Linked DNA regions of Homo sapiens: all the other regions are linked to region 1. The links are contacts of gene promoters, found by promoter capture Hi-C in blood cells and fetal thymus (Javierre and others, 2016). All regions are on one chromosome and are shown on one strand. Each heading gives the region's core, a stretch centred on a gene start or on the middle of the fragment in contact. The rest is flanking DNA. Distances are from core to core; before and after follow the strand shown.

Region 1 (7,374 bases), core at 3,323-5,822:
TCTCAAGCTTCAATCTTATCCTTTTAACCCTCAAACCTTTTAACCCAGTCCGACACCCAGCAGCGACTTAGACAATTGCATTAGAGCCTCTGGAAAACCAAGAGTTTAATCGTCCAGCCTTTACCCCTCTCGGGGGCCCAGAGATACTACCACTTCCTAACTTTCCCAGAAACTTGCCCCCAAGCCCTTGAAGTCCCAAGCCTGCTCCTCTGGGTCTCCAGGATCCCAAGCACCAGACTTGGGCTCTTCTTCAAAACCCAAAGGTCCAATTCCCCAGCCTCTCCCCTCCAATATCCAGGGCTCTGTCCTCCTAGGGAGCCCAGGCATGGTGCTTCCCAGGCCCTGGGAAAACAAACTGGCTTCTTCCAGCCTTTTGGGGATCCAGGGATCCAACCTCTCAGACTTTACCCACTCCCAGCCCCCTTCCTCCCTTAGGCCCAGGAATCCGGGTCTCCATTCCCAACTCCCTTAGCCCCAGAAGTCTGGGTCCCGCCCCCTCCCACCCTGCTCCTCCCTCTCTCCCAGCCCCGGCCCGCCCCATCACCATCTCACCCACCTGAGAAGAGCCAGGAAGACAGAAGGAAAAACACAGAAAAAAAGGGGGCGGAGTCAGCATCGGGAGCCCCCGGGACGCACCCCTCCTTGACCCCCTTGCCCTGCCCTGGGGCGGACACTCACCCATTGACAGCGACCTGGGGGGCGCTTTGCTGTAGGAAGTAAGACAGTCGGGTCAGGCGGGGCCAGGCGGACCGGCCGCGCCCCCGGACTTCCCAGCCTCGGCCCTGCTGTGTCGCTTGGGTCACCTGCCGGCGCCTCCGCTCGTGCTGTAGCTGTTTCTCAACTGGGTCCTCCCAGGCGCGGCTCTGCGGGTCAGTGACCGGCGGCTCCCAGCCGCTGAAGAACTCGGGTCTGTATGGGGGTCCCTCCTCCGGGGACAGCTCCAGCCTGCGGCCAGGGACAGGGCCAAGAGCTCAGGGATCCTGATACAGCCCCCAACTTCGTTCCTGCATTAACTTCACTAAGTTTTCCCCTAAAGCTCGCTGTATTCCAACGATTCTAGCCCCGCCACTTTTCACCAAGTCCTGCCGGTAGCTCTAAGCCCAACTCAACAGCAATTTATATTTCTAGACCGGGCACGGTGGCTCACGCCTGTAATCCCAGCATTTTGGGAGGCCAAGATGGGAGGATCGCTTGAGGCCAGGAGTTCCAGACCAGCCTGGGCAAAATATTGAGACCCCATCCATCTCTCTCTCTGGAAAAAAATTGCCTTATCCAGCCTCTAAATCTCACCTGATTCCAAATCAGGTTTTCCGTAAGGTCGGTTTCAGGTTCTGACCCTTTCCCTGCGGAACTGCCAGCCCGCAGTGCACAGACTCTGTCCCATCACCAAAGTTATAGACCAAACCTTCCAGAAGCCCCGCCCCTTCGCGTAGCCCCGCCCCTGCCCCGTAGCCCCTAGCCCCTCTATTCCTTTAAGCCCCCCTTTTCTTTCAATCCGATTGGTCTGGTGGTCTTAAATCTTTCCTTCACGTTAATTCCTGGCCTTTCCTCCAATTGAATCTTGGCATCTGTCCTAAGCCCCGCCCCAACACAACTAAGCCACGCCTCTAACCCCTCCCTACTCTCCTAGTCCTATTTTCCAATCATCATGCCACCCACCTCCCAGCGCCTTATGCTCCTCCAATCACCATGCCCCCTGCCTCCCAGCCCCGCCCCTCACCCGGGGCGGGTCCACGAGTCCCCCAGCGAGGTCCAGAGCTCGTTTTCACGTGGAGTGACGTTGTCCCGCAGCAGCGCCACGGCATCCGATGTCAGATGCGGCCGCCGCACACTGCTCGCGAACTCCGGCCCCCCCGACGTGTTCACAATCTGTCAGGGGAGCAGGAGGGGCAGGCTGTGCCGCCACACCTTCTACAAGTCGAACCCGATTCCTCCCGCTGCAGGGGGGCCCGAGGGCCTGGGGCGGGTCTCACCATCTGCAGAGGCCCGAAAAGGAAGTGCAACAGCTCCGGAGAGGAGGGGTCGGCGATGTTGCCGCGCAGCCGGGCCTGGGGCGTGGGGAGGGAGGTGGTTGGCGTGGGTGCGGGGACGGGACAGGTTCGTCGTGCCCGCGCCCCGGCCCAGGGGCGGGCGCGTCCTCACCAGCAGGCTGAAGGCGTACTTGATCTTCTGCAGCACGTCGGTGTACTCGGCCTCCGAGGGCGGCTTGGCCCGCAGCGTCAGCAAGCCCTCTGAGGGGAGCAGACGGGCGCGGCGATGGGGACGCGGGGCCAGCACCAGGCAGGCAGAGAGAGGTGGACACCCGGTTAAGATGGCGGTGAGGTCAGCCCTGGCAAGTGGCGGGAGGGGAGAGCCTGGGGAGAGCGGGGACATTTGGAAGAGATCGGGAGGGGGTTCAGATCCCACGCCAGGGTGCCCCTTACCCCCAGCCGCCCGGCGCCGGCTCCTGCGGCCGCGTTCCCGGTGCTCCAGCACCCTGGCCGCCTCCGCCGACTTCTGCAGCCTCGATACAAAGCTCTCTACGTCGTCGAACACGTGGTTCAGGATGTCCTAGGGGACAGAGGAGGGGGACGCTCAGGGCTCCCGAGTTCCAAAACCATCCCCGTCGAAGCCCTGAACCTGAGCACCTATACACTTCCCCAGATCAGGCCACGCCCCAAACACCTGGCCACGCCCCACAACCAAGCCCCGCCCCCGACCCAGCCCCTCTTCCATAACGCAGAAGTCTGACCAGAGAACGCCCGTCCCGCAGCCGGCCCCGCCCTTCCACGCCCTAGCCCCGCCTCCAGTCGCCTGGCCCTGCCCCCAGACCCCTTCCTTAGCGGCTCACCACTTCCCGCTCCGCCTGCAGAACCGCCAGGTCAGGACCCCGGGGACCCAGGTCCGGGGAGGCCGAGTCAGCGTTGCTCGAGGTCCCCACCGGCTCAGGCCTCTGCGCCTCCTCTGCCTCGGGAATGGGCTTCGCCTGGGGTCGTCCGCGGCCCGCGCCCCGCTCTACGGTGCTGATCACTGCGCGGACTGACGGGCGGCGCTGCAGGGGCGGGGTCTCAGCGGCGGGCGAGCGGTCGCGCTGCAACTCCTCCTGCGTGGCCCTGCGGAGGGCGACGGGGACACCAAGACTGGGTCCACTGAGGGGTCCAGGGAGGGGGAAATCCAGGGCGCAGAACGAGACACACAGGCTCAAAAGGCTCAAAGGGAGTGAACAAGTTCAACGAGGTAGGGAGAAATCCGATATACGGAGGGATAGCACCTCTCTAGAGTGAAACTGAGGGCCTGGACAGGGAACAGAGAAAAGAAGCAGAGTTCTGGAGAAGGGGTCAGCTCGTCTGGGAGGTACAGACAAGACTCGACTAGGGTGTGCTTGACTCCATGCAAAACTCTTGTTCTGTTCCAGGCTGGTGTTGTAGACTGAGGCACAAGGAGGGGAAACCGGCTTCCCAGAGACCCTGCCAACTTCTTCCCTCTCACCTGAGCGCCGCCGCCCTGCGCTCCCCGCGGCCCGAGCGGTAATTGTGCAGAGCCCCCTGGATGTCCTCTCGGATCAGCTCCGCCTGCCAATCACACCGTCAGGCCACGCCTCCCCACGCCGCACCCACTTCCTACCCGGGCCTCGCCCCTGGCCGATTTTTCAGCTCAGTCCCAGCCCACGTGCGGCTACCGTTCACACCTGTGAACCCACGCACGTCCACGCCCCGAACTCACCCCTCGCCCTACACCTGTCCCTGCCCTAAGCCACGACCCCGCCCATGGAGACCCAGTCCGGGTGGTTCCTCGCCCCCACCTCGTCCTGGCTGCTCCCCCAGATCCTTCTTGGCCATGTTCTGTTCATGTCCTCATCCCACCTTCATGTTCTATCTTGACCCTGGGTCCAATCTCAAACCCCACTGCCTTCCAGAACTTCCTTCCCAGGTCCCCTGCCCTTCCTTGCTCTGATCCCGCCTTAGCCCCAGGCCCCGCCCCACCTAGAGGCCCCACCCATTTCCGCCCCGGCTCCAGGCTCCGCCCAGTTCCAGCTCCACCCCCAGAGCCAGCCCATCTGCTCACCCCGAGGCGCAGGCCCTGGAAGAAGTGCACGTCGGGCTGCGCGCGCTCGGGTTCCTGGCACACGAGCAGCAGCAACGAGCGGCTCCTGCCGGGTGGCATCACCGCGTCACAGCGCACGATGGCGCCCAGTGGGTACGACTCCAGCTCCTCCTGCCGGGTGGGATGGCGGGGTAAACTGAGGCCCCGAAATGATGGTACTACTAAATGGCGACGGGAGTGTGGGCCAGCAGGTCAGGGCAACCTCAGGCGGTTAGGGGGTTAGGGATAACAGCCCTGTTTAATAGATGAGGCTATTAAGGCTCAAGAAGGGGGCTGGGGTCCCTCGCCAGAGTTCCCAGAGGAAGGACGTGCAGGAGCCAAGATTCACACCCAGACCCCCTGAAGTCCCTGCCCCAGACACTCCTCCCACCCACGTGCCCCCCGGCACCTTGGAGGCCGGGTCGAGCAGCGTGACATGGTCGGGAGACACTCGCAGCAGCATCTCCTGTGCCCAGACTCGGCCCTGGCTATCCATGACGGCCAACTTCCTGGAGGCATCCTCCACGGTATGCACGCCATCGTCCTCACCCAGGCAGAACGTCACCAGGTGCTGGTACGGACCATGGAGAAAGCAGTGAGGCCCAAGATGATGCCAGGTGGGCTCAGAATCCCCCAGAATAATCAGACTTTCAGCCTGAGACTAACCACACCTCCTCCAGGAAGCCTTCCTTGATCACCTGTTCCACAAATCAGCTCCTCCTCCCAGTGCCCTTTGTTTCCCTTTCATCAGAGTGACTAGCACCTGAGTCTGGCTTCTCACAGACTGGAGGCTCCTTGCGGGCAGGGAAGGAGTCTGGATTATAGCTCTCTCCTTCTAAATGCCTCCTCGGGTCTCCTGCCATGCCCCCTGCCACCTCCATTAGAGCACCAGGCGCCTCTGTGGATTCCTCTGGACCTTGTCTACCCCTTCCTCATGCAGGGCTGTGTCTTGATTTGCCTCCGTGGTCCCACTGTCCAGCACAACAGCTGGCCTGGAGGAAAGGCTGGCAGATTAAGTGGACCCGAGGCCCCTGGCTTCATATCCATGACTGAGGTGAGGCAACGGAGGTCCATTTTATGGATGGGCAAACTGACTTTCCACATGCTTCCTGCTTGGGGGCCTAGCTGCTTTCAAAAGCCCTATCTCCTGAGGCCACCTTTGCCCCAGAAGATGTCCTGGGGGAACACAGACCCCAGACTCACATTGACTGGGTACTGGGATACATCAGCCATAACAACTGTGGAGTAACGCTTCCTCTGCTCTGCCAGGGGAGAAAGAGAATGAGCCTGGGAGTCCAGGCCCAGCCCCTCCTCCATCAGACCCAGGAGTCCAGGCCCCCAGCCCCTCCTCCCTCAAACCTAGGAGTCCAGCCCCCCAGCCCCTCTTCCCTCTGACCCAGGAGTCCAGGCCCCCAGCCCCTCCTCCCTCAAACCCAGGAGTCCAGGCCCCCAGCCCCTCTTCCCTCTGACCCAGGAGTCCAGCCCCCCAGCCCCTCCTCCCTCTGACCCAGGAGTCCAGACCCCCAGCCCCTCTTCCCTCTGACCCAGGAGTCCAGGCCCCCAGCCCCTCTTCCCTCTGACCCAGGAGTCCAGGCCCCCAGCCCCTCTTCCCTCTGACCCAGGAGTCCAGCCCCCCAGCCCCTCTTCCCTCTGACTCAGGAGTCCAGACCCCCAGCCCCTCTTCCCTCTGACCCAGGAGTCCAGCCCCCCAGCCCCTCTTCCCTCTGACCCAGGAGTCCAGCCCCCCAGCCCCTCTTCCCTCTGACCCAGGAGTCCAGCCCCCCAGCCCCTCTTCCCTCTGACCCAGGAGTCCAGCCCCCCAGCCCCTCTTCCCTCTGACCCAGGAGTCCAGCCCCCCAGCCCCTCTTCCCTCTGACCCAGGAGTCCAGGCCCCCAGCACCTCTTCCCTCTGACTCAGGAGTCCAGGCCCCCAGCCCCTCCTCCCTCAAACCTAGGAGTCCAGCCCCCCAGCCCCTCTTCCCTCTGACCCAGGAGTCCAGACCCCCAGCACCTCTTCCCTCTGACTCAGGAGTCCAGACCCCCAGCCCCTCCTCCTCCAAGACCCTGGATGCCAGGTCCTGTTTCTTTAGACCCAGTTCTATGGGCCTGGGGCTCCCTTGCCCCCCGCTCACCATAGATAGACTTGGCGCTTGGCTTTGGGGCAGCTTCTGGGCTGGTGAAGAAAAGAGGAATGAGAGAGACTGTGGGACTGGGGGCAGATCCTGTGGAAATGCCAAGCAGGGCAGCAAGGGCTTCATGACGAAGGTAATGGGGAGCGATGGAAGGGTTATTATTATTATTATTATTATTATTATTATTATTATTATTGAGCAGGAGAGCTCAGAGCCAGAGCTGGACTTTAAGAAGACAGGTAGGCTGGGCGCGGTGGCTCACGCCTGTAATCCCAGCACTTTGGGAGGCAGAGGTGGGCGGATCACAAAGTCAAGAGATTGAGACCATCTTGGCCAACATGGTGAAACCCTGTCTCTACTAAAAATACAAAAATTAGCTGGGTGTGGTGGTGGGCGCCTGTAGTGCCAGCTACGTGGGAGGCTGAGGCAGGAGAATCACTTGAACCTGGGAGGCGGAGGTTGCAGTGAGTCCAGATCGTGCCACTGCACTCCAGCCTGGCAGCAGAGTGAGACTCCATCTCAAAAAAAAAAAAAAAAAAAAAAAGACAGGTCAGGTCAGGCGGTGGTGCTGGGTGGTAGGGGAGTGTGATCTCTACCATGGCATAGTCCGGGATTCAAACCCTCTGTCTACTGCCTCCTTGCCATAAGACCTTCAGAAGAGGATTTAATCTCTCCTGCCTCAGTTTTTCTTTCTGTAACGTAGTAACCATCTGGTAGGGCTGTTGGGCAAATTCAGTCAGATGATGCAGGTGAAGTATTTTGAAGCCTCAATAACTGTTATTATCATTCTTAAGATGCTGCCAGGGCTTAGCACACAGAAGTTGCTCAATAAATGGGAATGGTTATAATAGCATTAGTGGTATCTGAAGTAGACAGGGAATTATCTGCTTCCCCTCCCACTCCCATGGGCCAGGTGCTTCCCAACCACATCCTTCTCTGTCTCCTCCCGTCCTCAATTTCTTCCTAAGATTACCTTTCCTAAGAATTCTTGAATCCCCACTTGCATGCACATAACAGAAGCTCAGCGATCAGGTGGCGTCAGGGGAACTGAAAAACCCTTTTTCCCAAACTCCTGTTCCTCATCCTGCTCCTGCCAGTCTGATGTCACCACAATTTGATTACCTCTGGGCCAGAGAGCTCACTACCTACCATGCAGGTATTTTGACTCATCTCTCATTGT
Region 2 (7,374 bases), core at 2,574-5,073, 460 kb before region 1:
TGTCCTATGAGGACAGGGAGGAGGGAGGCTCAAGCCTGGAGGAGTGGACAGATGAGGGTGATGACAGCAAAAGTGGTGGGAGGACGGGGACAGATGGGGGAGCTCCCTGACCAGGTGACAGAGACAGGTGGCCAGAGCCTGGGCCAGAGGCCCTTCCCCCAGCCCCCAGGGCCACCTGGATGGAGAGACAGCTGCACCCGGGAGGACAGAGAGGGAACACATTGCACTCTCCCTACGGAACGCTGGGCTTGGACGCGCATTCCTCTTCCAACTGAGGACCCAAGAGCCCAGCTCCTGCCCCTCCTCTCTCAGACGCAGGATCCAGGCTCCCATCCCTTCCTCCCTCAAGGACCTTTCCTCTTCCCTCCGTCCAGAGTGTCTTCTTTTTTATTTTTATTTTTTTTAGACAGAATCTCGGTCTGTGACCCAGGCTGGAGTGCAGTGGCGCGATCTCAGCTCACTGCAACCTCCCCCTCCCAGGTTCAAGTGATTCTCCTGCTTCAACCTCCCAAGTAGCTGGGATTACACCCGCACCACCACACCCGGCTAATTTTGTATTTTTAGTAGAGGTGGGGTTTCACCATGTTGGCCAGGCTGGTCTCGAACTCCTGACCTCAAATGATCCACCCGTCTTGGCCTCCCAAAGTGCTGGGATGACAGGCATGAGCCACCACGCCTGGCCATCATGGAGTTCTGATGGGATCACTCCTCTCCTCTAAGACCTTCCGTGGCTCCCGCTGTCCATGTCACAAGATCTGAACTTTAGGATCCGACACCATATAAACCTCACCCTCCACCTCTCCCATTTCTCTGGGCTGTGGGTGATGTCATGGGCGCCACTCATCTGTTCTGGACCTAAATCTACACATGTGAGAACACACACACGCACGCGCACACACACATGGGTGCATACGTGTGCACACACACGCACATACATGTGCATGCACTCACGCATACACACACGCGTATATGCGCACATGCATGCACACACACGCGCGCACACACACATGTGTGCATACATGGACACACACGCACTCGCACGCATGCACACATGTGTGCACACACGCATGCACACGCATGCACGCACAGCTGCTGCCAGACATTGGCGCACTGTGTGGCCTCCACCGAGAGCATCTTCCCCCTGACCCATGGCTCCAGAAAGTGGCCCCCACCCCCAGCCCTCTCTGGCCTCCTGGGGAACTTGTATTAGAACAATCCATGTCTCTTTCTGACTGTCCAGGCTGGACCTGGTCTTCTCCATATTTAGATCCTTCCCAGTTCTGCTCCCACAGAGCACCACGGATTGTGATTGTCCCAGCTCCGTCCCCCTTTCTCAGACCCGTCAATCCTAAGAGCCAGGCCTGGTACCCATGGGTCTCCTTCCTCACCAAGGCCAGCCCGCGCCCCGCAGTCCCATGGCACCTGCCAGACAGGACACGGAGCCTGGCTTGTGGAGGTTCACGCCTGCAGGACGGGGATGAACTAGATCCAAATCCAAGACCCCAGCACCCAGCGGAGGGTCCAGAACTGGAAACTGTGTTTCCTAAGCAGGAAGGTATGCTTCCAGGCTGGGAAGTGAGCTCACTACATACGACACGGCATCCTGGGCTCGATCCATCGTGGAAGCGCTGCTGAAATAACAGTCTGGTGTTGGCCCAACTGTGAGCCTCGTAGTTTTGACAAATGTCTCACGGTTTGCATCGCGATGCCGACACCAGGGGAGGCTGGGGGAGGGTGCATGGGAACTCTCCGCAGGATCTTGGCAACCATTTTATAAACCTAAAATGATTCCAAAATAAAAAGTTTATTTAAAAAAATGAAGTGACTTCACATCAGTCATGGCAGTATAAACCTGAAGGGTGGGCCAGACACGGTGGCTTATGGCTGTAATCCCAGCACTTTGGGAGGCTGAGGCGGGTGGATCACCTGAGGTCAGGAGTTCGAGGCCAGCCTGACCAACATGGTAAAACCCTGTCTCTACTAAAAATATAAGAATTATCCAGGAGTGGTGGCAGGCACCTGTAGTCCCAGCTACTCTGGAGGCCAAGGCATGAGAATCGCTTGAACCTGGGAGGTGGAGATTGCAGTGAGCTGAGATTGGGCCACTGCACTCAGCCTGGGCAACAGAGCAAGACCCTGTCTCAAAAAAATAAAAATAGCCCAGGCACAGTGGCTCACCTCTGTAATCCCAGCACTTTGGGAGGCTGAGGCGGGTGGATCACCAGGTCAGGAGATCAAGACCATCCTGGCCAACATGGTGAAACCCTGTCTCTACTAAAACATACAAAAATTAGCCAGGCGTGGTGGCAAATGCCCGTAATTCCAGCTACTCGGGAGGCTGAGGCAAGAGAATCACTCGAACCAGAGAGTTGGAGGTTGCAGTGAGCCGAGATCACGTCACTGCACTCCAGTCTGGGTGACAGAGCGAGATTCCGTCTCAAAAAGCAAAAAAAAAAAAAAAAAAAAGAAATAAAAAACCCTGAAGGGTGGGTGCAACCGTCCCAGAAAAAAACAGGGGTCTGAAGTCCCACTGTGGCCCAAGGCTTGGGGACTTCCTAGTGGGGCTTAATCTCCCTGTGCTTACAGCAGGGAGGCACTCACTGGCCTGTATTCCTGTTATGCGCTTTCAAACTATTTTTATTGTTATTCCTCTCTTTGGAATCAGGAGCCCTCAGGCCCTCCTCCCTCAGACCCAGGAGTCCAGGTCCTCAACCCCCTCCTCCCTCAGGCCCAGGAGTCCAGGTCCTCAACCCCCTCCACCCTCAGGCCCAGGAGTCCGGGTCCTCAACCCCCTCCTCCCTCAGACCTAGGAGTCCAGGTCCTCAACCCCCTCCTCCATCAGGCCCAGGAGTCCGGGTCCCGTGTAGAAAATGAAATCATTTCTGGAACCCACCCCTGCCTTGACCCCACCCAGCTGCCCCATCAATGCCCCATTGACAGGTCAGACACAAGTGCTTGGAGAGGGGTGTCCAGGGGATCAGATGCTGGGGTCTAGTTTGGGGAAAGAATGAGACAATGAGATTCCAGAACGATGCAGTGTGGGATGACCTCAGACTCAGAGGGGCGGGAAGCAGGTGCTGGAGCAACTGGGAAGAGAGGCCTTGAGGGGGTGGGGAGGCCTCAGTTCTGCCGGAAAACTTCAGATGGGTGGGGGAGGCTGAGGCCTGGACTCCTGGGTCTGAGGGAGGAGGGACTGGGGCCTGGACTCCTGGGTCTGAGGGAGGAGGGGCTGGGGCCTGGACTCCTGGGTCTGAGGGAGGAGGGGCTGGGGGTCTGGACTCCTAGGTCTGAGGGAGGAGGGGCTGGAGACCTGAATTCCTGGGTCTGAGGGAGGAGGGGCTGGAGACCTAGACTCCTGGGTCTGAGGGAGGAGGGGCTGGGGTCTAGACTCCTGGGTCTGAGGGAGGAGGCACTGGGGGACTGGATTCCTGGGTCTGAGGGAGGGAAAGCTGGGGGCCTGGATTCCTGGGTCTGAGGGAAGAAGAGCTGGGGGCCTGGACTCCTGGGTCTGAGGGAGGAGGGGCTGGGGCCTGGACTCCTGGGTCTGAGGGAGGAGGCACTGGGAGACTGGATTCCTGGGTCTGAGGGAGGAGGCGCTGGGGGCCTGGACTCCTGAGTCTGAGGGAGGAGGAGGGGCTGGGGCCTGGACTCCTGGGTCTGAAGGAGGAGGGCTCAACTCTTGGGTCAGGGTATTCACCTGACCACAGCCAGTTCCAGGAGTCATCACACGATGTCGCTCTGCTCCCAGTGGGGGCAGAAGGGGCGGGCCCAGGGGCGGGGCCTTACGACCCCCAAAGTCGGGGCGGGGTCTTGCTCCTAGGCAGGCCTCTGCTGGCATGAGCCCTAAGTGCCGGGCACTGACCACAGCCGGCGGCCGGAGGGTCAGGAGGGCCTTGGAGGAGGTGAGGTCTGGAGGTCTGAGCCCAGGTTGGGAGGTGGGCAAGGTGCCCTGGCCTGAGGTGGGCAGCACCTGAGGGTGACTGTACCAGGTGGCCCGAGTCCTCGGTCCCTCAGGGGAGCCTGGGCTGCACCTGGAGGCTGTAGAGCGGTGGAGGGTGAGGGAAACAGAATCAGGGGGTCCCCAGTTGTGTGAATTGTATGAGGTTCCGGGAGAGAGGTGGGCTGGGGGCCTGGACCCCTGGGCCTGGCGGAGGAGGGGCTGGGGGGCTGGGTCGGAGGGAGGTGGGTGGGCTGTGAAAGTGGGACCCCAGGCCTGTCAGGAGCTTGGGGACTGATCCCAAGTGCTCGGTCCCATGCAGGACCCAGGCGTCCCAGGCCCTCTGCACAGCCCGCCCTCCCAGCCCTGAGCCCAAGAGCACCTGTTTGTTCTCAGGAGACAGAGTCTACTCATCCACCCCCAGGGCCCAAGTCTGTTTGCTTTGGAAACAAGATGGGGGAGTCTCAGTTATCTGGTTCATCTTTCAACCTCAGGGTGGGCGGGTGGCGGCGGCGGCACGCGGGCAGGGACATCTGTGACCTGGGGCTTGAACTCACACCAGACTTGTCTCCCCACCTCTCACCAAGAGGGAGACTGAGTCACAATGAGAAGCGCGATGAGCCCCCAGCCCCTCCTCCCTCAGACCCAGGAGTCCAGACCCCCAGTCCCCTCCTCCCTTGGGCCTGGGACCTGAGCCTGGGCACCCCTCTCTGTTCTCGCAGAGATGCCCGGCAAACAGTCTGAGGAAGGGCCGGCGGAGGCAGGGGCTTCGGAGGACAGCGAGGAGGAGGGTCTGGGCGGCCTGACATTAGAGGAGCTCCAGCAGGGCCAGGAGGCTGCCCGCGCGCTGGAGGACATGATGACGCTGAGTGCTCAGACCCTGGTCCGAGCCGAGGTGGACGAGCTCTACGAGGAAGTGCGTCCCCTGGGCCAGGGTTGCTATGGCCGCGTCCTTCTGGTCACCCATCGTCAGAAAGGTACGAGGCTGTGGGGCCAGAGGTGGCAGGGTTCAGCTGGGGGCGGGGCACGGGCCTGGGGTAGCCCAGGCTGGGGAGGCTGGCAGGCCTGAATCAAGTCTTACCTCTGCCCTCCAAAGCTGTGTGTTTTTTGTTTTTTGTTCTTTTGGTTGGTTGGTTGTTTTTGAGACAGTCTGGCTCTGCCGCCCAGGCTGGAGTGCAGTGGCACAATCTCACTGCAACTTCCACCTCCCAGGTTCAAGTGTTCCTCCTGCCTCAGCCTCCCATGTAGCTAGGACTATAGGCATGCACTACCACACCCAGCTACATTTGTGTGTGTGTGTATTTTTCTTTCTTAGTAGAGATGAGGTTTCACTCTGTTGGCCAGGGTGGTCTCGTACTCCTGGCCTCCAGTGATCCGCCTGCCTCAGCCTCCCAATTGCTGGGATTACAGGCATGAGCCACGGTGCCCTGCCAAAAACTGTGTTTTGAGGAACTCCCTTGCCCTCTCTGAGTCTCAGCTTCCTCCTTTGGAAAATGTGGGTGATGATTTCTACTTGGAAGAATGGTGGATCCTCTGAGTGAATGTGGACTGCTCTAGTTGCTGGGGTTGTATAATGCTGGGTAAGACAGAGCTCCCAGCTCAGGAGCCTCCTGTGGCGGCTGTAGTGGTCACCGTGGGATGATGCAGAGTGATGCTGTCTGCTAAGCACTTAGCAAGGCCGGCACACAGTGGGTGCGCAGGACAGCTCCCCACTACCCTGGGCCTTTCTGCCAAGCACCGTGTCCTTCCATGAAACGGAAAATAGGGAGGCAACCTGAGGTCAGTCAGTTCAGGGCACGCCTTCTGAGGCCAGCCCTGTGCTGGGGGGGTTGGGCGGGCAGTGGACCCAGAATTGAACCAGAGCCAGTCCCTGCCTTCAAAAATCTCCTAGCATGAATGCAGAAAAAGTGTGCATTCATCTGCTGGGGCTGCCATAACAAAGGCAGGCGCTTCCACAACAGAACTTTTGACTTTTTTCTTTCTTTTTTTTTTTTGAAATGGAGTCTCGCTCTGTTGCCCAGGCTGGAGTGCAGTAGCACAATCTCAGCTCACTGCAACCTCCGCTTTCCAAGTTCAAGTGATTCTTGTGCCTCAGCCCCCCGAGTAGCTGGGATTACAGGTGCATGCCACCATGCCCAGCTCATTTTTGTATTTTTAGTAGAGATGGGGTTTCACCATGTTAGCCAGGCTAGTCTTGAACTCCTTATTTCAAGTGATCCTCCTGCCTCAGCCTCCCAAAATGCTGGGATTACAGGTGTGAGCCACTGTGCCTGGCCTTTTTTCTTTTCTTTTTTTTTCTTTTTTTTTTTTTTTTGAGACAGGGTCTCGCTGTTGTCCAGGCTGGAGTGCAGTGGCACAATCATAGCTCACTGCAGCTTTGACCTCCTGGGCTCAAGGGATCCTCCCACCTCAGCTCTGCAAGTAGCTGAGACTACAGGCGCATGCCACCATGCCCGGCTAATTTTTAAATGTTTTTTTTAAGATGGGGTCTCACTGTGTTGCCCAGGCTGGTCTCAAACTGGCCTCAAGTGGTCCTCCTGCCTCAGCCTCCCAAAGTGCTGGGATTACAGGTGTGCGCCACCGTGCCTGGCCAACAACAGAGCTCTGTTTCCTCACAGCTTTGGAGGCTGGAAGCCCGAGATCAAGATGTCAGCAGGGTTGGTTCTCCTGAGGCCTCTCTCCTTGGCTTGCATTTGGCCGTCTTCTCCCTGTGTCCTCACATGGTCGTCCCTCTGTGTGTGTCTGTGTCCTGATCTCCTCTTCTTATAAGGACACCAGTCACATTGGATGAGGGCCTGCCCACTCTAGTGACCTCATTTTACCTCTTTAAAGACCCCATCTCCAAATACAGCCACATTCAGCACTGGGGGGGTTAGGACTCCCACATACGAGTTTTGGGGATACACAATTCAGTAATAACACAGAGGGCAATAACACAGCCACACAACAGCACACCTCAGGAAGAGCCACGGATGCAGAGATCCAGCCCTGGGTGCTCACAAAGCCGGAGGCATGAGCAGTAACAGGCGGGGGCATTGCCAATGAGGCCCCTCCATGGCCATTTCACTGAACCTGTATCTGGAGGCCTCCAGCACACCTGCCCCTGGGCTGCATGATGCTGGGGCCCTGAACATGTCACTGTCGTTAAGAAGCTCAGGGCACCGTGGGGAGCATAGATGGGCAGGGATCGCCAACACCGGGTGGCGTGGCCGTGGCGGCAGTGATCAGGAGCGCTGTGAACACGCAGAAGAGACCCCACTGCATCTGGCTGCAGAGTGGGCGGGGATGGCTGGTGTTTTTGATAAGGAAGGAACTTTTTCTTTTTTTTTTTTTTTTTTTTTTTTTTTTTTTTTTTTTTTGAGACGGAGTCTCGCTCTGTCGCCCAGGCCGGACTGTGGACTGCAGTGGCGCAATCTCAGCTCACTGCAAGCTCCGCC
Region 3 (7,374 bases), core at 1-2,500, 300 kb before region 1:
TAGCCCCGGCACCTTTGGATATTTCCGGTCTTCGTAAGCCCTCGCGGTGATGGCCAATGAGGGCGCCGAGGCCCGCTCGGGTATTTTCGGAACCCTCCGGAAACGCTCTTGGGAGAGGTGTGTATGTTCGGAAATACTCCGTCTTCATTCGGAATCCCTCGGCTAATCCTGGCAGCCCTCTTGCAGTTCGCCCTCCCCAGGGTTTTCTTGAAATAAAACTCTTAAACTGTTTAAGCCTGGGGAGAACCTACACGGAAACTTCTCGCTGACTGCCACCCCAGGGGAGCGCGGATGCCCTCTAAGGGAGAATTGTTTGGAGGGAGGGAGATTTGCATGTGGCTTCTCTTGGCTCCCTTTAGGATTCTATAGATTTGCCGGTCCTCTTCCCTGCCCTCCACCTGTGCCTCCAGCCTATGGTGTGCCTGTCACACCCCATCAGCTCCCTGGGAGGTTATGATCCGTTGTCAGGGCCACCCTAAGGGGGCAGGAGCCTTGCCTGATATTTCTCTGTGTCCTCGGCCTCACCCACGCGGCATGGTGCTGGGGAGGCCTCAGAGACTCCTACTGAACAAAAGGAATGAGGGTGCCTGTGTCACCTCCCCAGGGCTCCTTAACTTGCGGTTACACCCGGGCACTCCTTGGGGCAGGGGCTTCGTCTGGTCCATAGGACTATCCTCCATAGGACAGTCGGGGTTCGCCCAGCTTCCTCCACGGGTGCGCTCTGGACCTGATGGGTCTCGTCCGTCCTTGTGCCCGTGGCTTCATTCGCTGAACACAGGAGACCCCAGAAGACACGCGCTGAGTGAAGGAAACTCAGCTTCCGCGGAACCCGGAGCTTCCCCTCTTAGATCACCCCGACTACTGGTTCTCGCGTCCCAGAGCTCCTTGGTGTCTAAAGGCCTTGTCTGATCTGCACTGTCTGATCTGCACAGGCTTCGGGAGGCGGACACTGAGCAGAAACAACGCCACGCCCGGCTCCGAGTGTCCCATGCTGCCACCACTAAAATGCCCTGATTTTTGGCCATATGTGACCTCCCTGGGTGGCACGGGCCCTAGGCACCCGTGGCTGTGCGCCTGGCTACCACCAGCTCAGGCCTCTGAGCAATAGCCCCTGCACGGAAACCACGACCAGGGTAACCCCGGCCGCGCCGGTTCGCGCCCAGCCCGGTTCAGGTGACCAGGCGGGAGCTTGGCACACCTGGCGCCGTCCCCTGACCCCGCCCCGGACCGGGCCGCACCCCGGAACGCTCTCTCTGGGCGCCAGCGGCGGCGGTGCAGGGCCATGGCGGCGGCGCCAGCGGTGTGCGCCTCGCAGGGGAGCCCGCCGGGTGCACCGTCCGCGCCGGCGGCCGCGCCAGCACCCGCGGCCGGCCTGGGCCGCTGCCGGATGGCGCTGCTGCTGGCCGTGGCGCTGGATGTGGCGGGCATGGCGGCGCTGCTGACCGGCGTGTTCGCGCAGCTGCAGGTGCGCGGCCGCGACTTCGGGGACCTGCTCATCTACTCGGGCGCGCTGCTGGTGTTCCTGAGCCTGCTGGGCTGGATCCTCTGGTACACCGGCAACATCGAGATCTCGCGCCAGGAGCTGGAGCGCGACTACGGCCTGCGGCCCTCGGCGCTCGCCCGCCTGGCGCGCAAGCTCTCCCGCCGCTGGTCGGCGCCCGCCGCCGCGGGCCAGCGCCCCGCGCCCGGCTCCCGGAGAGCGCGCCGAGCCGCCCGCGCGCCCCCGCCGCCCGCCGCCGGCTCCCGCCGCGTGCGCCTGCAGCTCGCCACGCTCGAGGCCGGGCCCGGGGCGGCGGGCGCGGGCAGCGAGTGAGGCCCAGGTGAGGGGCGGGCGGGGCAGGGCGGGGAGACGGAGGGACCGAGGGAGGGACGGGAATGGAGACAGACGGGGGAGCGATGGACAGATGGAGACAGAGAGCGGCCATGGGGAGGTAGAGTCCCAGGGCGGGGTGGAGACAGGGACGGGAAGGCTCTGGCGGAGAACCGCAGACACAGCAAGCACAGGTGCATACGTGGGGGAGGCTGTGAGACCCTGCCCCTGGAGATGGGAAGTGTGGGGGTCGAGTCACACAGTTAGGCCCCCCGCACGGGGAGAGCCCCAGCTTCCAGGTACACCAGGCCCCATTTTTTGTTTTGTTTTGTTTTGTTGTCGTTTGGGGTTGTTTTGAGACAGGATCTCTCACTGTCACCCAGGCTGGAGTGCAGTGGCGTGATCTCAGCTCACAGCAGCCTCGACCTCCTAGGCTCAAGCAGTCCTCCCACCTGAGCCTCCCAAGTAGCTGAGAATACATGTGCGCCCCACCTTGCCGGGCTAATTTTTGTATATTTAGTAGAGACGGGGTTTTGCCATGTGGGCCAGGTTGGTCCCCACCTCCTGAGCTCATGCGATTTGCTCTCCTCAGCCTCCCAAAGTGCTGGGATTACAGGCGTGAGCCACTGAGCCCAGACCAGGCCCCATTTAATCCTCTCCATGTAACTGGTCTCCAAGGTCACTACTATTACCATCCCCATTCTGCAGTGGAGGAAACTGAAGCGCAGAAAGGCGCCACATTTGCCCAAGGCCACACAACACGTAGGTGGAGGAGCTGGGATTCTCCTGACCTGTAGGCCTAGGAAAAGAGGAGCTGGGATTCTCCTGACCTGTAGGCCTAGGAAAGGAGGAGCTGGGATTTTCCTGACCTGTAGGCCTAGAAAAGGAGGAGTAAGAAGGACCAACAGCAGGAGAAATGAAGCCACCACACATTCACTCCCCTTTCCCCTCTACCTTCTATCTCTTTCCTAAACACACCTTTCCAGCTAGCCTGCCTCTGCTCAAAGACCTGCTGTGGCTCCCTCTTCACCTTTGGTTAAACTGAAGCACTCACTGGCCTGTGGACCCCCCATATTTTGGCCCCATTTCTCCTGCCTCTCTGCACTAATGGTGTCTCTTAGTCCACAGATAGCCAGTTGGTCCCTGTTCCTGCTCTTCTCTACACCAGGAGTGCCCTTGGCTGTCTCCACTCCACCCAGAAAACTTCTCACATGTTTAAGATTTAACTTAATTTCTCTGGGTCTTCTCTGGGTCTTCATATTGTCTGAGCGACCCCTCTTGCTGCTTATATGGCCATGTGCTGTGTCTATGTTGTTACTGTCTCTCCCACCTGACAGGGAGTGCCTTGAGGGTAAGACCTAGGTCCCTAGCGTCCTTGTTCCTAGCATTGCCCAGCAAAAAGTGTGAAATCAGGAAAGGTTGATGGTTGGGTAGGGAAGTGGAAGGATGGATGGAAGAACGGATGGCTGGATGGGTGGATGGGTAGATGGATGGGTGGATGGATGGATGAGTTGGTTGATGGATGCATGGGTGAATGGATGATAGATTGATAGATGGGTGGGTGGGTGGATGGGTAGATCGATGGGTGCGTGGATGGATGAGTTGTTTGATGGATGGATGGGTGAATGCATAGATGGGTGGGTGGTTGGATAGGTGGATGGGTAGATGGATGGGTGGATGGACGGGTGAATGGACAGATGGGTGGGTGGGTGGATGGGTGAATACATGGGTTGGTTGATGCAGGGATGTGGTTGGATTGACGGATGGATGGGTTGTTTAATGGGTAGATATGGGTAGGTGGTGAATTGGGCAATGAACCATGAATGGATATGGTTGGAGAGGGAGCCCTGCCTGATAAAGGGGCAAGAGCTTTTCCTGATACTTCTCTGTGTCCTCGGCCTCACCCATGCAGCATGGTACTGGGGAGGCCTCAGAGACTCCTACTGAACAAAAGAAATGAGGGTGCCTGTGTCACCTCCCCAGGGCACCTTAACTTGCGGTTACACCTGGGAACTCCTTGGGGCAGGGGCCTCGGCTGGTCCATAGGACTATCCATAGGACAGTCAGAGTTTGCCCAGCCTCTGTGCGCTCTCTGGATAGATAGGTAGATGGGTGAATGGGTAGTTGAATAGATGGTTGGGGCTGAATGATAAGTACACAGATGAGTGGATGAATGCATTTAATGGCACATGGATGGTTGGGTGACTGAATTCATCTCTCAAATAGGGTTTTGGTAAAAGAATTAAACCCTATTATCCTAGGACGTTCTATGTAGGTAAATAATTAACTTTTTTTTTTTTTTTTTTTTTTTTTGAGATGGAGTTACACTCTTGTTGTCCAGGCTGGAGTGCAGTGGCGCAATCTCGGCTCACTGCAACCTCTGCCTCCCGCGTTCAAGCAATTCTCTTGCCTCAGCTTCCCGAGTAGCTGGGATTACAGGCATGCACCCCCACACCTGGCTAATTTTGTATTTTTAGTAGAGACGGGGTTTCTCCATGTTGGTCAGGCTGGTCTCAAACTCCCGATCTCGGGTGATCCGCCCACCTCGGCCACCCAAAGTGCTGGGATTACAGGCGTGAACCACCGTGCCCGGCTGGAATTAACTTTTCTCCTATGCATCCAGAATGCTACCAGTTATATATTATTCTTTGTGAGATTTGGGGAAATAGTCACCCCAATCATATGCTACGTGCCGTGATTCAGTGAAGGAACTGGGGTAAGAAAGCATGAACATCTGCTTGCACGGGTGAAGCGTAAGCTAACATGAAGCTTGGCATAGAATGCAAACATAAGCACCTGTAGTTACTGTTACCTTTGGAAATCCTGGCTGAGCACAGTGGCTCATGCCTGTAATCCCAGCACTTTGGGAGGCCGAGGTGGGAGAATTGCTTGCTTGAACCTGGGAGGCAAAGGCTGCAGTGAGCCAAGATCACGCCACTGCACTCCAGCCTGAGTGACAGAGTGAGAACCCGTCTCAAAAAAAGAAAGAAAAGAACATCCTTTATGAGGTTGGGCATGGTGGCTCATGCCTGTAATCCCAGCACTTTGGGAGGCCGAGGCGGGTGGATCACCTGAGGTCAGGAGTTCGAGACCAACCTGGCAACCATGGTGAAACCCTGTCTCTACTAAAAATACAAAAATTAGCCAGGCATGGTGGCGGACGCCTGTAATCCCAGCTACTAGGGAGGCTGAGGCAGGAGAATCACTTGAATCTGGGAGGCGGAGGTTGCAGTGAACCAAGATCGTGCCACTGCACTCCAGCTTGGGCAACAGAGCAAGACTCCATCTCAAAAAAAGAAAAGGAGAGGAGAGGAGGGGAGGGGAGGGGAGGAGGGGGGAAGGGGGAGGGGAGGGGGAAGCAGGGAGGGAAGGGGGGAAGGGAGGGGAGGGGGAAGGGGGAAGGGGGAGGGGACGGGCAAGGGGGGAGGGGAGGGGGGAAGGGGGGAGGGGAGGGGAGGGGAGGAGAGGAGAATCCTTTACGTAGCTTAAACGTCTAACACAGCTGCACAGGCCTCCACTCTTGGAGCCTCCACCAAAGACTCAGACCACACTGACTCGAACGTAGGCCCCACTTAGAGGAAAATGGGCCTGTTCAAACCCAGGACTCTTGTTTACTGGGGAGAGTGAGCAGCTTCCAGCGCATGAAAGACAGAGAACCTGAATTTTAGCAGAGGGACCCACAGGTTCTGGCTCTGGTACCCCCACAACCTCCGAGACCACCATGAGTAGCCGGGCAGAGCCACCCCCATCACTCTGTTGTTCAGGCTGGAGAGCAGTGGTGCAATCACAGCTCACTGCAGCCTCCACCTCCTGGGCTCAAGCAATCCTCCCACCTCAGCCTCCCAAGGAACTGGGACTACAGGTACCAGAGACGGGGTCTTCCTATGTTACCCAGGCTGGTGTCAAACTCCTGGGCTCAAGTGATCCTCCTGCCTGCAGCCAAAATGCTGGGGTGAGGGTCTGAGATGAGGACCACGATGCCCGGCCTCCTTCTGTCTTCACTGTGTCTGCCTGTCTCCCTCTCTCTCACTCTTTGTCTCTGTGTCTCTGTCTCCCAGGTCTCTTTCTTTGTCCCTGTGCTTCTGCCTTTCCCCTTCTGCATGTCTTCGTCTCCCCCTTTCTGCCTCTCCCTGGCTCGCATTCCCTGGCCTCTACCCTTGGATTTCAGGGCGTTAAAGGTACACACGCATGCACACACTCAGCAAATGGGGGCATGCAGGGATGAAGGAGCAAGTGTGTGAGTCCATGTGAGCGGCAAGGGCAGGCGGATGGGGCTCCCTGCCTCTGCCCCCGCAGGCAGAGAGCCCGGAACAGGGATGGGAGGGGTTCCTGAGCAGTCGCTCACTCCACCCTCCCTCCTGCAGACAACCCCTTGGCTCCAGCTGTCAGGACCAGACTGAGATGTGCAGCTGCCCCTACATCCGTGGCCAGACGGACGCTCCCTGTACCCCCTCCCTCCTCACTTGGATAAAAAGCAGATTTGCCTTAGTGCTGCATGTCTGTCTGGGAGAGGGACCCTGCTGGGGTGGGAATGGAGACGAGGTGGCTTGCTTCCTTCTAGCACCCAGGTGGGCCTGGCCACACCTGAGGTGAGGCTGCCCCTGCCCTGGGGAGACCAGGAGCCCTGGGGATATAGGAGCCTAGCCTTATGCTGGCCCCTTCTCAGAGGGGGCCAGAGAGGGGGCGGGGGATAAGGATCTTAGCCCAGACCCTCCACTCTAAGCCCCAACATCCCTGTGTGAGTTTGGGTTCACTGAGAAGCAGACACAGAGACAAACTGGACTTGCAAGATATGTCTTGGGGAAACACTTTTGTAGGGTAGCTTGGTGCAGGGAGAGGGAGGGAGGGATGGGTAGGACTAGTCTTAGACTGTACCGCACCTCCAAGAAAATTGCCACTGGCCCCTGGGGAGCTGGGAGCTGAAGTCATCGTCCATGAGGGAGGCCCCTGCCCTTCGAGAAGGCACCTGTACCCGGAACCCCCACCCCTTGCCTCGCCATGCTCAGTTATTGGTGGAGAGCAACCCATGGTAATCTAGGTGCATCTGGGGTGGGGGCGGGGGGCACTGTCAGTCACTGGCACTCCATGTAGGAGACTGAGGGGCACGTTTCCACAGCTGTGGCGTGCCCCTCTCCCCACCCAGTCCAGGCACCCCTCAGACCCCACCACCCCCACATACCCCCAACTCCCTCATTTCAGACCCGCACTCCAGCACTCGTACACCTCTATCCCCTCAGTCCAGGGTCCCCATGATCACAGCCCAGGACACCCCCATGAGCGCAGATCCCCCTCAGCTCGGATCCTCCCCACTTACCTCCCAGATCTCTCTCATTCCAGGCTCCCCCTCAGCTCACACCCCCACGACCACAGCCTGGCGCCCCCTAAGCCTCCATCCCCAAGCCCCCTCCAGCCCCCACCTGTTACCCCAGCCTCTGTGTGCACCATGCCCCCTGCTCCCCACGGCTTTCAGAGAAGAGAACACACGTCCGTCCACCGTATCTGTATTGAGCAGTCCCCCGGGGACTCCCCTAATCCTCCTCTTCCTCGCCCTCTGTCTCCTCACC
Region 4 (7,374 bases), core at 612-3,111, 270 kb before region 1:
AATCCCAGCACTTTGGGAGGCCGAGGAGGGTGGATCACGAGGTCAGGATTTCAAGACCAGCCTGGCCAAGATGGTGAAACCCCATCTCTACTAAATATACAAAAATTAGCCGGGCATGGCGACGGGTTGCAGTGAGCTGAGATCGTGCCACTGCACTCCAGCCTGGGCAACAGAGCGAGACTCCGTCTCAAAAAAAAAAAAAGTTAACTAGGCATGGTGCCATGTGCCTGTGGTCCCAGCTACTCTGGAGGCTGAGATGTGAGGACTGGTTGAACTGGGAAGTCGAGGCTGCAGTGACCCACCATCGTGCCACTGCACTGCAGCCTGGGCAATAGAGTGACACCCTGTTTCTTTTCTTTTCTTTTTTTTTTTTAGAGATGGGGTTTCGCCATGTTGGCCAGGCTAGTCTCAAACTCCTGACCTCAGGTGATCCATCCGGCTTCCCAAAGTGCTGGGATTACAGGGGTGAGCTCTATTGCCAGGCTAGAGTGCAGCGGTGTGATCGTGGCTCATGGCAGCCTTTATCTTCCTGGGCTCAAGTGATCCTCCTGCCTCAGCCTCCAAAAGCCCAGCCAAGTTTTTGATTTTTTTGTAGAAAAGAGGTCTCACATGTTGCCCAGACTGAAGTGCAGTGATGCCATCACAGCTCACTGCAGCCTCAAGCTACCCAGGCTCAGGTGATTCTCCTGCCTCAGCCTCCTCAGTAGCTGGAACCACAGGCACGCACCAACACGCCTGGCTAATTTTGGTATTTTTTGTAGAGATGGGGTTTCACCATGTTGTCCAGGCTAGTCTCAGACTCCTGGACTCAAGCAATCCTCCCGCCTCTGCCCCACAAAATGCTAGGATTACAGGCATGAGCCACCGCACCTGGCCGGGATTCTTAATTCGTACATTTGGCTGTCAGTGTAAACAATCCTGAGTCAGGCCTGATATTAACCAGGCAGGAGGGAGAGAAGCTTAGCAGGGATCTAGAGGTGAAACCACCTGCCCAGATTCCAGTTACTTGTCTGCCCCTAGAGCCAAGACTCATTGATTCCGCCTCGGATTTATTGTGCATTTACTACTGCCAGACTCTGCCCCAGGCAGATACAACAGTGAGCCAAACACACAGCAAGACCCGCCCTGGGGGACGCTCTCCTAAGCCAGGCATCTGCAGCTCTTAAAGCCCTGGGTACCCCTCTCTCCCTACCCTGTCCCCCAAAGCTCTCTCTGGCTTGCTTTCTCCCTGCAGCCTGCAGCACTCCCAGCACTCCGAGTGGCCGGATGCGGGGGCTTAACCTCAGTTGGAAACTGTCCAGAGGAGCCCAGCGCTGCCAGGTACCCTTTAAGACCCTGGAGATCTGCCTTAGACCTGGGGGCGGGGGGAGGGGGGCGAGGGAGGAGGGTGGGGGGGGCGGGTAACGGAGGGGGGAGGACGAGGGGGGCGGGGGGGTTCCCAGGAGCCCGGACCCCACCGCTGCTCTTTCCTCTTAACCCCACAGGCCCCGAGGGTTCTGTGCGCACCGACTGTAGGAAGCGGAATGTTGAAAGCCGCTTGGGGGGATTTGCCCCCTCTGGTAGATACCAGAACTATGGATATGCCTTTATATATTGGGGGGCGGGGGGGGGCGGGGGCGAGCCCGTGGAGCCGCCCAACTTCGCAGAGATTAAAGCTTGAGCCTGAGACTCAGCGAGTCGCACCTCGGTGCCTGTGTGCACGCGCAGGCCCCCGAGGGGGCGTCGGGGGAGCAAGGGGTGGGGTGGGGGCGCCCCTACCAGCCCCGCGGTGCACGACGGCTCCCATTGGCTGGGGCTCGGGCGTCCTAGCCAATCCGGCCGCGGGGTGCGTTTCTCCTGACCCGGGTGGGACCGCACCCCGCGGACTCAGAAGCGAGCGGCACCCCGGGACCATCCCACAGCAGATCCAGTGGCCGCCAACGTCAGGCTGGTGAGGGCACGACGGGTGGGGTTCAGGGGCGGGGGTCAGGATGGGGAGACGGGTCGGAGCGAGGGCGCCCCCTCGGCCCCACGGAGTCCCCGTCCCGTCCCGTCTCGCAGGAGTTGCCTCCTTCGTGGATGTTGGATGTGGAAGCCCAGGAGCCCCCCAAGGGGAAATGGTCGACGCCGCCCTTCGACCCGCGCTTCCCCAGCCAGAACCAGATCCGTAACTGCTACCAGAACTTCCTGGGTGAGACCTGCTCAGCCAGGTTATGGGAGGAGCAGGGTGTGACAAGGGACGGCAGGGAGGGGCACTCCCACCCTAAGTCCCGCGGAGACCGTTAGGGTGGGAGGCCGGGCGGGGCCGGGTTGGTGGGGGCGGGGCCTGGTCGAGAAAAGGCGGGGCTGAGCCTGGAGGGGCGGGGCGAGGTTGGTAGGGGCGAGGCCTGATCTGGAAGGTGCGGGGCCGAGTCGTGAAGGTGCGGGGCGAGGTAGGTAGGGGCAGGGTCTGGGTAGGAGGAGCAGTGTGAGGGAGGTAGGGGTCGGGGCCTGGCTGGGAGGGGCGGGACGGAGGCCTCCAGGGGAGAGGGAGGCGGGACGAAGCAGCGAAGAACTGGGAGGGCCCGAGCAGTGGAGGGGCGGGTCCTGTCCTGGAATGGGCGTGGCTTGCCGCGTGACCCCCGCCCGCCACAGACTACCACCGCTGCCTCAAGACCAGGACCCGCCGCGGGAAGAGCACGCAGCCCTGCGAGTACTATTTCCGCGTGTACCACTCGCTGTGCCCCATCAGCTGGGTGAGTCGGCAGAGGGGGCGCCGGGCCAGGCGTGTGCAGGGCTCGGCCGAGGCTGAGCCGGCGTCCCGCTCCCTGCCTTTCTGCTTCCCAGGTGGAGAGCTGGAACGAGCAGATCAAGAACGGGATTTTCGCCGGCAAAATCTGACTGCCCCAGCGCGGCTTCCTCTGAAGATGCAGTGATCCTGCATCTTTTTGTCTCGCGGAGCCCCGGGTCTCGGTTATCCACCCCTACCTCCCAGTGTCTAAGCCACGAATAATGGTATGCTGTTGCTGATGTTTCTTCTTAATGCCCAGCCAGCGATGCGTCGTGGTGGTGGTGGGGATCCTCCGTGTGCCTGTGTCCGGGCTAACGCTGCTTTTTCCGATAAGGGGCAGGTGGGGGACTGCTGCTCCATCAGGTAGCAGCAGGCAGTCAAGGCCCTAAGACAGGAAGCCGAATGCCTCCCGTCCCCCTTCTCCCTCTCCATTCCAGCAGGTAGATGCCTCGCGTTGACAGCTACGAGCCAGCCCAGGGTCCCCAGTTCTCAACACTGTCCCACCCAGATGGCTCCAAGGTGCTCCTGCCTCCAATCACCACACCTACCTCTCACCTCAGTCCTTTCCCTACTCCCCTCCTGCCTGGACCATCTCCCCAGGCTCCTTCCCCATCCCACCCCTGATCCATCCCATCTCGGGTCCTGAGGGGTCTTCTTTGTACCACCCAGCGCTGACTCCATCCCTTCCTCCCCCACTCTCTGGGCTCTCCACCACTCTCCATCACGACCCCGCTCCCACCTGGCTCATTTCCCCTCCCAGAACATCGAGATCCCCATCATGTGAGCCAGCTTATTTCCAACAGAATCCCCTGGTGTCCACGCTTTCGGCACCCGCACCCACAGCCAGGCGTAGCAGCCTGCTCAGTTCTCCAATGCATCAGGCTCACCCCGCACCCCCACCCCGCAGAGGCCGCTGTCAGTCTCTCCCACCGCACACATCGCCGCAATTTCTCCTGTGACCCCCGCCAGACTGCCAGCACCCAGAGGACGCTCAGAGCTCCCTCGGAATCATTCTTTACTCCTTCCCCATCCCGGCAGTAACACGGAACCGCATTCCGGTTCCAGACGCCCTTTGAAGTCTTGCCTCTCCCCAGGCCAAGGAGTGCCGCTTGACAAAGCCCTAGGGTTCCAGCCTGGTCCTGCTGAGGGAGCCGTGAGACCAGTCAGCCTGGGGTGCTGGTTTTCCCAACGGGTACTCCCTGAGCTATCAGCCTTCCAGAGGGGCTCCTAGGAGGGGGAAGCCCCATCCTCTGACTGAAGCGGTCCTATGAGGCCCTGTTCAACCCCAGGGTTCAAAGGTGACTACAACTAATCATGACAACTTGCAGGGTGACCCTAGACAAGCTTCTTGACCTGTGTGAGCCCGAGGTTCCCCAAGGCAAACCAAGATGGCTCAGGGCCCCATTATCAGAGGAGGTAGGGCTGGGTGAGCTCAGGGGGCTGACTCCATCCTGCTCCCTGCCCCATGATGACCTGTCCATCACCTGCCCTCCATGCTGCCCAGGACACACCCTAGATGAGCCATCCCCCAGGATGACGCCACCTCTGAGATCTTGGTCTCCTGGCTCCGTCTCTGACCACAACCCAAGAATGGGGTGAGGGCACAGGGTGTGGACTCAACTACAGGAGGGCTTCCTGTTCATGCAACGTCCCCAGAGCCTTGACGAATGCACAGAGGCGCTGGCAGAACCACGGGGGCAGGACCCCTCTCTGAGTCACAGAATGGAGCTAAGTTGGTGAGGTCACCCAGGTAACATCCCAAGCACAGGGTGCCACACCTGTGCAGCCACAGCAGCCTCCTGACCTCCCCAGAGCCGTGTCTAGAACCCATTTTTGCCCTGTTGGCCAGCCTTCCTCCTTCCTCCTCCTCCCATCATCCTATCTTCACTGCCTCCAGACCTCATCTCAGCACATTCTCACACTCCCGACCCCCTCTGCAGCCGCCACTGCCCCACTGATGCCTGAGCCAGGGGCAGGGGCAGACCTGCCCGGCCTGGCCTCCAGCCTGGTGGACCATCACCTGTGCAAACTCCGAACACCTCCTCCAGGTGCTCTGGCTGGCTTTCCCTGGTGTCCAGTAGCCGCCTCCTGAGACCCCTAATGCCAGCCTCACAGTCTCAGCAACCTCCCAGGTCAGAGAAAACCAAGGCCACTCTACTTATTCCTGCCCCCACCCAGAACACCTGCATCCTTGTTCGCTCAACATCCTCCTCCCGCCTTCTTTCTCTACTCCTTTTCCTCTTCTTTCTCCTCCTCCAGCCCCATCTCTTCAATCCTTCCATCATCCACTTTCCCCTCCCTCTGCGGTTCTTCCCTCAGAACCTGCTCCGTCCTCCCGGCCTCCAGACCACGGATCCTGAAGGCCACCTGCGCTGCCTCCCCTGCTCACTGTCCCCTGGCTCCTAGGGGCCGCAGCTTCGCCTCCTCTCTCTGGGTTTCCCCCTTTCCCATCCTGAAGGTGGCAGAGCCCGAATGGTTCTGAGAATGAGTTCAATCTAGGCCCTGAAGCTACTAACCATGTGGCCTGGGACAAGTTCCCTAGCCCCTCTGCGCTGTGGCCTTTTCATCTGAAATATGGTAACAATGACATAATAATGACACCTCACTTCCTAGGGTTGTGGGGAGGACGGCGATGTGAAAACATATAAAGCAGTTAGAACAGTGTCTGGCCCCCCTCTTCACAGTGTGTGGGGTCTCTAGCCATAGAGACAATCTGAGTCACTCGAATCAGCATGTCGGCCCAGTTCTGGTGCCCCATATTGTGCTGGACAGTGAGACTGATTGACCGGACAGACAGCCCAGGGATGACCCCATAAACCAGTCCTGGAGCTCTTGGAGGCATCTGGTTACTAGCTTGCAGCATAAAGGGCCAGAGTGCCCCCACAGGGAGACACGGGGTCAGGGTGGGGAGTCCTTGGCCAGGGCCCTGCCTGCCTGCCAAAGGCTGAGAGCAGTTCTAGTGCCACACACCCAGGTCAGTGCTGGTTGTATTTCCTGTTTCACTAAACTTCTTTCCACCTTCACCTACAGCCACCAGCCTTCGAGTTCCTTGTTTCCCTTGCTCTGGTCTCCACGTGTATGATGGGGTTCTCAGGCCCAGGCTTCGACCAGAGGACCCTCTGCCACCACCGTTTCTTCCTGTCCTTGAGCTACCTTGGTGAACTCATGACCCCAGGCCCCTGCTCCACCAGGATGTCCCCCAGGTCCTGCCAGCTGGGAAGTGCCAGCATGAACGCCTCCAACTTCGTGGAAGCCAGGGTCCCCTGCAGCTGAGGGACGCCAAGCAGACACACCTGCCCTCCCCAGCCAGCTCCTGTCTGTATGGGCGAGATGACTGAGAGCGCCCACGTCCCTAAGGCTGTCCTGACCCTCCATGCTGCGACAAGGACAGGGAATGGTCGGTCACTATGGGCCTGGTGTCTCCCCTCCCCCACCACCCGGTGCTGCCCAGCTCAAGCCAGAAGCTGACTTTGGCCGCCATGGGGACATCAGGCAAGGTCTGGAGACATTTTTGGTTGGGGCAGAGGCATGCTCCTGGCATCGAGTGGGTGGAGACCAGAGAAGCCGCTCAACATCCTGCAATGCATGGGACAGGCCCTGCCTAGAAACACCAGCTCAGCATGGCAGCAGTGCGGAGGCCAGGAAACCCTGATCGCCAGTTTCTAACGCCCTCACCATTTTTATTTTTATTTTTATTTTTTTTGAGACAGAGTTTCGCTCCTGTCACCCAGGCTGGAGTACAATGATGCGATCTCAGCTCACTGCAACCTCTGCCTCCCGGGTTCAAGTGATTCTCCTGCCTCAGCCTCCCGAGTAGCTGGGATTACAGGCATGCACCACCACGCCCAGCTTATTTTGTATTTTTAGTAGAGACGGGGTTTCTCCGTGTTGGTCAGGCTGGTCTCAAACTCCTGACCTCAGGCAATCTGCCCACCTCAGCCTCCCAAAGTGCTGGGATTACAGGCGTGAGCCACTGCACCCGGCTCACCACTAGTTTTTAGCCCTTTTTGTTGGGGGTGGGGTGGGGGCAGAGGAGAGGCGGATACAGAAACTTGTGAGAATGTGATGAACGCTCTGAACCCCCTATAAAAAATGTGCATGTAAATATATACTCTCAACATTTAAAAGATTTCAGAAGGTTCCTGGAAATTCCAATGTCCACCCATGAGTCCTCAGCTGAGACTCCCTGCTCCGCTGCCCTCTTTGTCTAAGAGCTGTGGCAACAGCACCTGAATTTCAGAAACAAAAGGCCGGGCGCGGTGGCTCACACCTGTCATCCTAGCACTTTGGGAGGCAGAGGCAGGAGGATCGCTTGAGCTCAGGAGTTCGAGACTAGCCTTAGCAACACAGTGAGACACAATTGCTACAAAAAGATTTTAAAATTAGTTTGACGGGGTGGCGTGTGCCTATGGTCCCAGCTACTCAGGAGGCTGAGGCAGGAGAATTGCTTCAATCCAGGAGGTGGAGGTTGCAGTGAGCCGAGATGGCGCCACTGCACTCCAGCCTGGGCCACAGACCCTGTCTCAAAAAAAAAAAAAAAAAAAAAAGGAAAGAAACGAACAGCATGGCTTCAGTTCACTCAGAGACAAATCCTTGGGGACTAGCAGTGGAGCCATCTCTCTGCT

Evidence for each region. Contacts are between HindIII fragments. The CHiCAGO score rates a contact against its expected background, and 5 or more counts as called.
Region 2: a contact is called between the fragment with the promoter of SBK2 here and a fragment that was not itself captured in region 1, in 1 of 17 cell types (naive CD4 T cells). The highest score is 5.6, in naive CD4 T cells.
Region 3: a contact is called between the fragment with the promoter of TMEM238 here and a fragment that was not itself captured in region 1, in 10 of 17 cell types (total CD4 T cells, naive CD4 T cells, activated CD4 T cells and 7 more). The highest score is 11.1, in total CD4 T cells.
Region 4: the fragment with the promoter of COX6B2 here is called in contact with a fragment that was not itself captured in region 1 in 1 of 17 cell types (fetal thymus); the score reaches 6.4 in fetal thymus.

Annotation. Positions count from the first base shown.
Region 1 is chr19:55,076,949-55,084,322 of GRCh38, reverse strand. EPS8L1 (EPS8 signaling adaptor L1) reads right to left here. Exons shown (of 20, transcript NM_133180.3): 3 at 6,195-6,235; 4 at 5,266-5,324; 5 at 4,472-4,633; 6 at 4,045-4,194; 7 at 3,469-3,551; 8 at 2,831-3,092; 9 at 2,424-2,550; 10 at 2,143-2,231; 11 at 1,974-2,048; 12 at 1,721-1,869; 13 at 804-945; 14 at 679-707. Among named protein-coding and RNA genes, the nearest start is that of EPS8L1, 4.8 kb to the right of the region's middle. RefSeq lists enhancers at 3,069-4,026, 7,275-7,374. The HindIII fragment of the contact is 9,126 bases long and covers 10-7,374 here.
Region 2 is chr19:55,533,582-55,540,955 of GRCh38, reverse strand. SBK2 (SH3 domain binding kinase family member 2) reads left to right here and starts at 3,823. Exons shown (of 4, transcript NM_001370096.2): 1 at 3,823-3,902; 2 at 4,660-4,914. The coding sequence starts at 4,662. SBK3 (SH3 domain binding kinase family member 3) reads left to right here. Exons shown (of 4, transcript NM_001199824.2): 4 at 1-300. The coding sequence ends at 110. RefSeq lists a silencer at 2,920-3,214. The HindIII fragment of the contact is 39,425 bases long and covers 1-7,374 here.
Region 3 is chr19:55,378,168-55,385,541 of GRCh38, reverse strand. It overlaps TMEM238 (transmembrane protein 238), which reads left to right and starts at 1,250. Exons shown (of 2, transcript NM_001190764.2): 1 at 1,250-1,820; 2 at 6,175-6,298. The coding sequence starts at 1,283. The coding sequence ends at 1,813. TMEM190 (transmembrane protein 190) reads right to left here. Exons shown (of 5, transcript NM_139172.3): 5 at 7,296-7,374. The coding sequence ends at 7,339. RefSeq lists enhancers at 565-634, 665-734, 688-1,650, 5,747-6,247 and silencers at 1,025-1,364, 1,655-1,744. The HindIII fragment of the contact is 6,498 bases long and covers 1-4,581 here.
Region 4 is chr19:55,349,206-55,356,579 of GRCh38, reverse strand. It overlaps COX6B2 (cytochrome c oxidase subunit 6B2), which reads left to right and starts at 1,861. Exons shown (of 5, transcript NM_144613.5): 1 at 1,861-1,930; 2 at 2,041-2,170; 3 at 2,614-2,714; 4 at 2,806-2,973; 5 at 5,780-6,876. The coding sequence starts at 2,059. The coding sequence ends at 2,859. It overlaps GARIN5B (golgi associated RAB2 interactor family member 5B), which reads left to right. Exons shown (of 11, transcript NM_001145402.2): 10 at 1,235-1,320; 11 at 1,485-1,672. The coding sequence ends at 1,280. RefSeq lists silencers at 2,277-2,326, 2,437-2,546. The HindIII fragment of the contact is 2,438 bases long and covers 1,658-4,095 here.